Linked DNA regions of Homo sapiens: region 1 is linked to region 2. The links are contacts of gene promoters, found by promoter capture Hi-C in blood cells and fetal thymus (Javierre and others, 2016). All regions are on one chromosome and are shown on one strand. Each heading gives the region's core, a stretch centred on a gene start or on the middle of the fragment in contact. The rest is flanking DNA. Distances are from core to core; before and after follow the strand shown.

The links. Contacts are between HindIII fragments. The CHiCAGO score rates a contact against its expected background, and 5 or more counts as called.
Region 1: the fragment with the promoter of CTDSP2 here is called in contact with a fragment that was not itself captured in region 2 in 1 of 17 cell types (monocytes); the score reaches 5.8 in monocytes.

Annotation. Positions count from the first base shown.
Region 1 is chr12:57,844,643-57,849,215 of GRCh38, forward strand. It overlaps CTDSP2 (CTD small phosphatase 2), which reads right to left and starts at 2,087. Exons shown (of 8, transcript NM_005730.4): 1 at 1,730-2,087. The coding sequence starts at 1,793. RefSeq lists silencers at 529-578, 909-1,208, 1,799-2,228, 2,239-2,318, 2,389-2,568. The HindIII fragment of the contact is 5,566 bases long and covers 1-3,763 here.
Region 2 is chr12:55,752,655-55,757,090 of GRCh38, forward strand. It overlaps GDF11 (growth differentiation factor 11), which reads left to right. Exons shown (of 3, transcript NM_005811.5): 3 at 1-4,436. It also overlaps a transcript of SARNP not described here. Among named protein-coding and RNA genes, the nearest start is that of GDF11, 12 kb to the left of the region's middle. The HindIII fragment of the contact is 2,174 bases long and covers 456-2,629 here.

The DNA.
Region 1 (4,573 bases), core at 837-3,336, 2.1 Mb after region 2:
GCTATAAACACACGCAGGCTCCCTTCCTTTTTCAGCCATCAGCACAGTTGAGCAGCCAGCAGAGGCGGTGAAGTTGCTGCCTGGGTCACAGCCTGGTTAGTGATGCAGCCAGGAGAGCAGAAATCATGGCAACACCGAGGTCAGGGAGGCCGGAGCCTTCTCGGGGGTTGGGATCTGAGTAGGCAAGGCCATCCCTTCTCAGGGCAGGCTTATTTAAAGTCCGGCCAGTGATGCAAGAGGAACACACTGCCTCCCTCCCCCCACCCTTCCCCCCTCCCAGCTCCTCTCGTTCCACTGAGGGAATTTGGGAGAGGCTGACACCACCAACTCAGCGGATTTGCCCCTAGGGAAGTTGGGGGAGCTCCTTGGAACGTGAACCCCAGGAATTAGTGACCTGCTGACTAATGTTGCCAAACGGGGAGACGTGGGGCGCACGAGGCCCCGAAGCTGGCCGCCCACCAGGCTCTAGGCCTCAGTGTGTTCAACTGCAGCACCGGCCCTTCGCGCTCGGTGGAGAAGGGGAGGGAGCGCTCCGGCTTCGGCCCCAGGAGCCAGCTCCCGCCCCAGCCTCCGGGGCCAGGTGGCCCCGGTCGGGGGGCTCTCTAGAGAAACGCCACACTCGTCCTTACACCCCGCGGAAAATCTGCCGCTATTTTGGACACATTCCTCAAGGCCAAAAGAAGAACGTGGCGGAGGGGGAAAGAGTTTCGAGTCTCCCACTGTGACCAAACTAAGAGGTTCCACCCTCGGGCCCCAGCTTTCTCCCGCCCCGGGAGAGGCCTCGGCCTCCGCCTCACCCCCGCGAGGGCCTGCGGGCCCCCTCGCGCCTCCACCTGACGCTCTGGAAGGCGGGGGCCGCCAGCCGCTGCCCACAGAGAACTCGCACTTTTTCGCTGCGCGATTCAGAACCACGCCGGGTCTGATGCCATCCGGCGAATTATGTAACCAGGGACACCGCTCCCGGGCTAAACAAACGCGGCTCTGTGTGTGCAGCGCCGGCCCCGGGGGAGCGCACCGGGCAGGGAGGGGCTCTGGCCGGGCCTCAGGGTCGGGCTTGTTTGCTCAGCGAAACTGGTCAGAGGCAGCCGGGAGGGAGCCCGACGCCGCCAAGGTCCCGGGGCCTGCGCTGAGCCGGGAACCCGCCACGTCTGGTGCGCCAGGGCCCGGGCCCCTCCCCCACCGCGACCGCCCCCGCCTCCAAGAGGTGAACTTGGTCCCAAGTCCCGCCGGACGCCGTCACCGCCAGCTAGCTGCCCGAACGACCTCGGGCTTGGGGGGGCCTGCAAGTGCTGGACTCCAGTCTCGGTTCCGTTCCACCTGGGGCTCCCTCTGTCACCTTCCTAACCCCTCCCCGCGATCCCGGGGCAGCCGCGCGCGGCGGTGAAGGAAAGTGACGACCCCACCCCCAACTCCGGAGGCGGTGGACGCGGAGTGGCCCAGTGCTTCGAGAGCTACCCCTCCGTCTCTCAGCCCCGAGGGGGAGGGGTTGCGGGACAGGGTGACAGCTGCGCCGAAGACGCCCTTTCCGCTCGGGCGCCGGGATCCCCGTGCAACCCCCACGGAGGTCTGAGTGCCAGCCGGGATGCGGGGGCGGATGGACCGGAGGGGTCCAGTCGGGATCGCTGGCTCTAAGCCCTGGAGGTCAAGGGCCGAGACCTGGGTTCGGGGCTGTGCTAGCCCCCTCCGCGCCCGGGGGCGACGCAAAGTTTTGGGAAGTTGCTGCCCCTACCTTGCTTGGTGAGCACCAGGGCGTCTTCCCTCCGCGCCTGGGTGATGATGGAGCCGTGTTCCATCTAACAATCCCGCGGGCCCGGGCTGGCTGGGCGGGAGGACGGGCGGGCGCGCGGGCTGGGCTGGGCTGGGGGGCCTGGGCGGGGGCCCGCTCCGGCTCCCGAGACTCCGACTTCCACAGCTGTTCACATCCCCCCTCTCGTTTCCTCCCCGGACCGGGAAGGGAGGCGGCCTGTACAAAGGGCGGGCGGCCCGGGCAGCGGCTCCCCCGGGTGCCCCCGGCCCCGATCCCCCAGCGGCAGCTCCGGGCTCCTCAGTTTGGGTCCAACATGGAGAATCCGGAGCGAAAACAAGAGGAGGAAATGGGACACGGGGCGGTTTCCAGGCTCCCCCCTCCCCTCCGTACTCCAGATAAACAACCCGCGGCTGCAGCGCCCACCCCCGCGCGCCTCCCGGCTCTCGACTCGGCCTCTTCACGGCCAGCTGGAGCTTCCCGCTGGGGGCTGCGTCCTAGGCCCTGGGACCCTCCATCTGTGAGCGGCCGGGGCTGCGGACAGTCGGGAGCTTTGCTATTTTGTTACGGAAAAAGCGAATCCTCAAGGGGGGTGGGGTGGCGGGCGGGCAGGCTGGCGGGGGAGACTTGAAACCGTTCCGGTGCTCCGATTGGCTCTCTTGGAGAAAAGGGGCGTGGCCCCTCCTTACTATGCGGTGAGAGGACCTAACAACATTCCAGGCGCCACGGCCACGCCCCCGGGCCACTCCCCCCGCGCCAGACTGCGGCCTCCCAGTCTCCTCGGCCACACCCCCTTCCCAACTATTTAAAAGGCCGCTCCGAAGCTCACGTTCTGGTGCTCTGTGCTGGGGTGTTCTTTTCTCGGAGGGCGCACTCGGGGAAGGTGGAAAGGTTTCCCCCTTCAGGGGTGACCAAGACAAGCCGCTAAGCCTAACCTGACTCCAGCAGGGGATGGGGCGGATCGGAAGTTACCTTACCCCCCTGCTTAGCCCTAGAATCAAGGACGTACCAAGTCACATAAAAGTACAACCGTCGAGGCCAGGCGCGGTGGCTCACGCCTGTAATCCCAGCACTTTGGAAGGCCGAGGTGGGTGGATCACGAGGTCAGGAGTTCAAGACCAGCCTGGCCAAGATGGTGAAACCCCGTCTCTACTAAAAATACAAAAAAATTAGCCGGGCGTGGTGGCGGGCGCCTGTAATCCCAGCTACTCGGGAGGCTGAGGCAAAGACTTGCTTGAACCCGGGAGGCGGAGATTGCAGGTAGCCGAGATCGCGCCACTGCACTCCAGCCTGGGCGACAGAGCGAGACTCTGTCTCAAAAAAAAAAAAAAAAAAGTACAACCTTCGAATCCCGAAAGGGGTGTGTGCGTGTGGGCGGACCTAGGACTCCAGAGTATAAGAGCTGGAACTGACCTCGGGACTGTGTCCCCCAAAACACTGAAAATGAGACCTGAGGTGCTGGGCTTTCCTCACACCCACCGACTTACTCCCATTTAGGCGGCCCCGACTCCGCCCCTCCTCCCTACCTCCCTCATCCTACCCCTCTCTTTTTGCCCCCACAGTCCCAGCTTCCTTTAGATGGATGGAGGTCTCTCGGAGGAGCTTCAGCTTTGTGGACTCAGGCTGCCTTCCCCACTTGCTCTTTAGGCCTCGGGGCACGCTCCGCTGGCTACAGCTCCTGGAGTCTCTGCTCAAGGTTGTGGGTGCTTTTGTTCCCCAGCGGTGGTAGCTCCAGAAAGGCTGGTTTCAGCTCAATATCAGGTCTTTTCCAGTGATCTACATCTGTCCACAGGTGACATGGGCTGCCTTGGGACAATGGTAGCTGTTCAAGTCAAGGCCGGCAAGAGTGGTGTAGAGTGAGATTGCACTGGGTGACTTCTGAGCTAAATCCAACCCCAATATTCTGTGATTCAGTGGCACTCACCCTGCCAAGGAAGGGGCTTCCTTCCTGCTGCAGTTCCCATTGCCCAACATGCATCAGGTCTTACTGATGATTAGAGGACAACTAGGTCACAGCTAAGCTTGCCAGGTACTATCAGACACCTGCTTCCTATGGTCCCTTCCTCATGAGGACAGGTGAGGTCATGATCTGCATATGCCTGTGTGCCATACAGTGATCATGTGTGCCTGTTTCTGCTGTTCCTACGCACGTATACAAAACCTTTTTATATAACATCATTTTAATGGAAATGCTGTTTTTCCAAAATGAAAGTGGCTGTTACAGATCTGAATGATGCTTATGTAACTTTAAACACTGAATTTGGGTAGATCTTAATTCATTAACAGAAAGGGAAACGGAGGAGTTCTGACATACCCACCTCCCATCATTAAAACAATAGGATCTTTAAGGTAAATCTTCAATAGTCAGGTTGCTATGGGGGCCTTTTTAGACCCTTCCCCTGCCCTCTTCTAAGGTAGATTAGTTGCAGTGGGAGGAATGCAGGCAGGAGCTGAGGACTGAGGATTTAGAGGGGCCTGCTACCCATAGCACTGTAGGGCAGGACACTTCACTTCGTTATGCTTCCATTTCCTCATCCATAGAGACAATACCTCCCCTTTTGTAATTTACAAAGTACTTTCACATATATTATCTATTTCATTTGATCTCTCACTTCTTTGAGGTTGATAGAGCAGATATTATGCCCATTTTTATAGATGCCTGTTTTGTAAATGAGGAATTGGTCTGGGAAGGTTAATTGACTCACCTGAGACCTCACAGCTTGTTAAGAAGAGGAGACAGGATGTCTTTGGACTTTAAGACTAGAACCCTTGACACTTTAACATAGTTCCCTTCTTATCTATAGGATGGAGGAGACACTAGAACCTATC
Region 2 (4,436 bases), core at 293-2,792:
GTATGGAGCTGACAGGGGCATTGGAATGCCAGGAAAGAACTTCTTCAACTGAGATCAAGGCTTCCTGGAGGGAACCACTGCAAAAAGGCCATCAGGCAGTTTTCAAGTTATGTGACAGAGGGCAAAGACGGCCATAGGGTGCTCTGAGTTTTGGGATGGTCACATGACACAATCCAGCACTTGAACCTGAAAAAAAAAATAAAAGCGGTCAAAGAGTTTAGAATTCAGTGCTGAGCTCTTCTCCCTAATCAAGTGCCACATTTACACCTTGGAGAACCGGAGGTGAAGAGGATCTGAGACAGGAAACCTCGTGTTCAATGACTAAGAAGATGGGGTCCTGGAGCAAGACAGAAAACACTAAGGGCATGGTGGTATAAGGTTTGGGACATGCAGGCCAAGGAAGGATGGAAAGAGGACAGGAAACTGGGGGTACCTAGAACAACCCCTCTCTGAAAAGCTTGAGCCAAAACAGTCCCAAAGACAACAAGACCCCTCTCCCAGCCTCCACAGAATGGAAGATCTAAAGGTTCTCTTGAGATGATCCAGCTAGTATGGAAGATCTAAAGGTTCTCTTGAGATGATCCAGCTAGTGTCCTATTCTCCTGCAGTCCCTGTTCCTAGGTTTCCTCAACGAAGTTTGACAAAAATCTAAACCAACATAGCCAACGAACTTGCCTTGTTACACAAGAGTGGCTAAAATAGCATCTCAAATATTCTTTCAGTTCACTGTAAAAATTTTTCCCATGTACCTAGAGCACAATTCCCCAGGAATATGAGTTGGGAATGGCAAAAGAATATTGCCTGACTCACATTTTTCAAAAATAAGGAAAGCTGGCTGGGCGCAGTGGCTTACATCTGTAATCCCAGCACTTTGGGGGGCCGAGGCGGGCGGATCATGCAAGGTCCGGAGTTCGAGACCATGCTGGCCAACATTGTGAAACCTCATCTCTACTAAAATACCCAAAATTAGCCGGGCGTGGTGGCGTGCGCCTGTAATCCCAGCTACATGGAAGGCTGAGGCAGAAGAATCGCTTGAACCCAGGTGGCGGAGGTTGCAGTGAGCTGAGATCGCACCACTGCACTCTAGCATGGTGACAGAGTGAGACTCCCATCTCCAAAAAAAAAAAAAAAAAAAAAAAAAGGAAAGCAGGACCCAGTGGTGTGCTCCTGTAGTTCCAGCTATTCAGGAGGCTGTGGCAGGAGGACCACTTGAGGCCAGAGGGTCAAGGCTGCAGTGTGCTATAATTGGGCCTGTAAATAGCCACTGTACTCCAAGCTGAGCAACACAGTAAGACACTGTCTCTAAAAATAATTAAAGTAAAATAAAAATAAGGAAAGCTCCTGTGACATCAACCTGATCCAGAATTGGGGACAGCGCTACTGCGGGTTCAATGTACTGCCATGTTTTCCCTGTCTTATCAGTTCTATCAGCACACTGACCCCACTCGAGACCAACTACAAGACTAAGGCTGGAAGTGGTTGAGTAGCAGAAGTGTTATGTATTCTATCTTCCCAAGGGAACCATATCCACATCTACCCCTAACTTTGGCCTGAGCTGAAAATGGGTTTTCTCTCCCTGTGGCTCATTTGTTTCCTATATTGAGAGAACACCCAAAAAAAGACTACTCAAGATGACTTTTTACAAGTCTTTTCTTTATCCTAAAACATCCTCCAACCGAAGGCATGGGAAGCTATCCTATACTCTGACCTTGCCTATATTTTAAATGGCAGGGGCCCCAAGCTAAGAATCAGCAGGCAGTGGCATCTACAGCTTCTGGTCTGTAGTGGCGTAGAAGCAGGAAAATCAATGCTCCAAAGCAACAATGTCCAGCTTTCCTGCCAGTGAGCTGGGCTTGAGGGAGTGAATGGGACTCTTTCTGCCTTTTCTTTTTCTCAAAATACGACTGCATTAACTGGGTGTATGCACACACAAACATGTTCAAACTAGGGCACTCATACCTAGCTAGAACCTACTCAGGGAAAGAAATATGTATTTCCACAGTACCCTGATCACCCAGTAAAAGCTAATATTTATTGAATAATTACTATGCAAATTATGGTAAGCAAATTGTAGTGTGAATACATGATATGAGAATATCACTTAATTCACACAGCAACCTTCACAATGGGGTTCCTTTTGGTACAGTCTGAAAAGAGAATGATTATCTGCGCAGGGTCTCAGAGCTAGTGTGGTAGAATAAGAAATTAAACCTAAGTAGTTGCTAAACAATATTACATTCTAATCTATCCTATTGAAAGTGATCCGGGAGGTAGAAACCTAAATACAGGAATAACATAAGGGAAAGAGATAACAAGAAAGTTAGGGACACCTTGGACTCAAAGAATCTGGAAAGATGTGAAACCTGTAATTTTAAATCCCTTTGGAAGGGAAAAACAAGAAAAGTCTAGATATGGCAAGAGAAGGGGAGGTTAAATTTTGGGGGGATTCCAATAATCAGAAATAAGTGGCATTGCCAGAGGCCCTCATATAAGAGAACAGCAAAAAAGTTATCCTCCCTTAAGTTCCTCCCTCACTCCTCATATCAGACACAGCAAGAGAACTCAGCTCAACACCAAGAAGTCCTGCCCTTATTCACACCTTCCTTCCTATAGCCCTCATCCTCACAGAAGCTTCTAGCCTCTATCTTCAGCAGTTCTTAAGAGGTGGGGTGGGGGGCTGGGCAGTTTAGAGTGAGAGTGGAAAAAAAGAATAATCCTAGAGAACCATAAAAAAGTACAGATTTACAGCTGAGGAAGCTAGTTCTCCCCACAGCTTTTATAGACTCCCTCATTAAGAGCTTCCAGGTATGCAGAGAATGTCACAGCTTCAGGAATTGGAATCAGTTAACCACATCTGGATGCTGGATCAACTATAGTAGGGAAACGGGGAGAGGAAGGAAGGGTACTAAGATCTCAGGTAAACAATTACAAGCCTCAATGTCTGTTCCATCTCCAAACGGAATTACTATTTTAAAACTGAATTGGGAAAAAGGCATCCTGAACTATTCATGCTCAAAGAGTATGTGGAGAATGACTATAATGAGATAGGAAGGGGAGGACTTCATCTGGCTTGGAGGTTAGAGACTTCTGACCAACATAGGAACAGCTGCTGAAATGGGATGAAAGAGGTTAATAAGAAAAAAAAAAAAATCCTCACAAATTGGAAAACACTGTTCAAAGATCTAGGGGAAGTAAGATGAGTGAGGAGAATAATTAGGCTTCAAGAAGAGAATCCTGGCAAGTAAGGCTGAATATCTTTCTGGAAGGTTATAGAGGATAAAGAGACGAAGAAAACTTCCAAAAGATCCACTGTTCCACTTCATAATCAGCATCTGCTCTATTCCCTCATGTATTTTTCTCTTTTTAAAACCATATTCAGGAAGAAACCATTAGTGAATCTATAATCTCTCAAGTTACAAATCAGATCTATTCTGTTTTCAGATGAAGGCAGAGTAGAGAGAGGAAAAGCTAGCCCCAAGATCAGAGCCTGAGGTAAAGAAAAGGAAGGCAGACAGAAAAGAGGGAAAAGGGAAGGTCATTCCAATTTTAAGGTTTATTTGGTTGAAGAGGTGTCAAAAATTTAACCAGCATTCCCTTTTGTTCACTTCTCCAAAGTCTCAGAATGGGGCAAACTTCACAACAAATGGGCAGCAGTTTTTGGATCTGCTCTCCAAGGCACAATTTTTCTAAATTATCTAAACTTTAGGTCCCTGCTTTCCTCACCAACCAGAGACTTTGGAGAAATAAAGAGATATCTTGACATTAGAAAGGTGATCAAACTATTACCATTTCATTAAGCACAAAACCAGGCAGGTTTTAGTAGAAATAAGGATAAAGGATTACACCACAGCAACATGGGACCTGATCATAGTACCAAAGTCTTCAGGTAAGGTGTCAGGCTCCTAAGTCTTATTACCAAAAATAGCTCAAACAAAAACCGAGCTTATATAAAGATTAAGAGGAGAAATTCTGCAATAACATATCCAAAAAGATTAAGCAGGTTTCAGATCTACATGAACTTGAAGCCTCCAGTTCCACTGCTTATGTTCCCAATGATTTAGCTAACAATGCGTAACAGCTCTGACATCCTCTGTCATGCTTTGATTCTGCATACAAAATTTCTTCTGTCTCTGAGGGATATCCAGCCCATCTCCCTTCCTGAACTGACTGACCAACATAGTATCGTATCACATCACCCTTGAAATCAGGGCCCTTTTCCTTTAATGTGGGACCCTGGACTCCATTTTATCCAAGAAAAAGTCTGCATTATTAGCTAATAACAGAAGGCTACTAATCACTGCCCTTGTATTTATATCCTTTGCAACACCTAAAACCTCCCATGTTCTGTTTTATTTCAGTGGGTCACTACAAGCTGCTGGAGCAAAGACTTGGTGGGTGGGTAACTTAACCTCTTCACAGAGGATAAAAAATGCTTG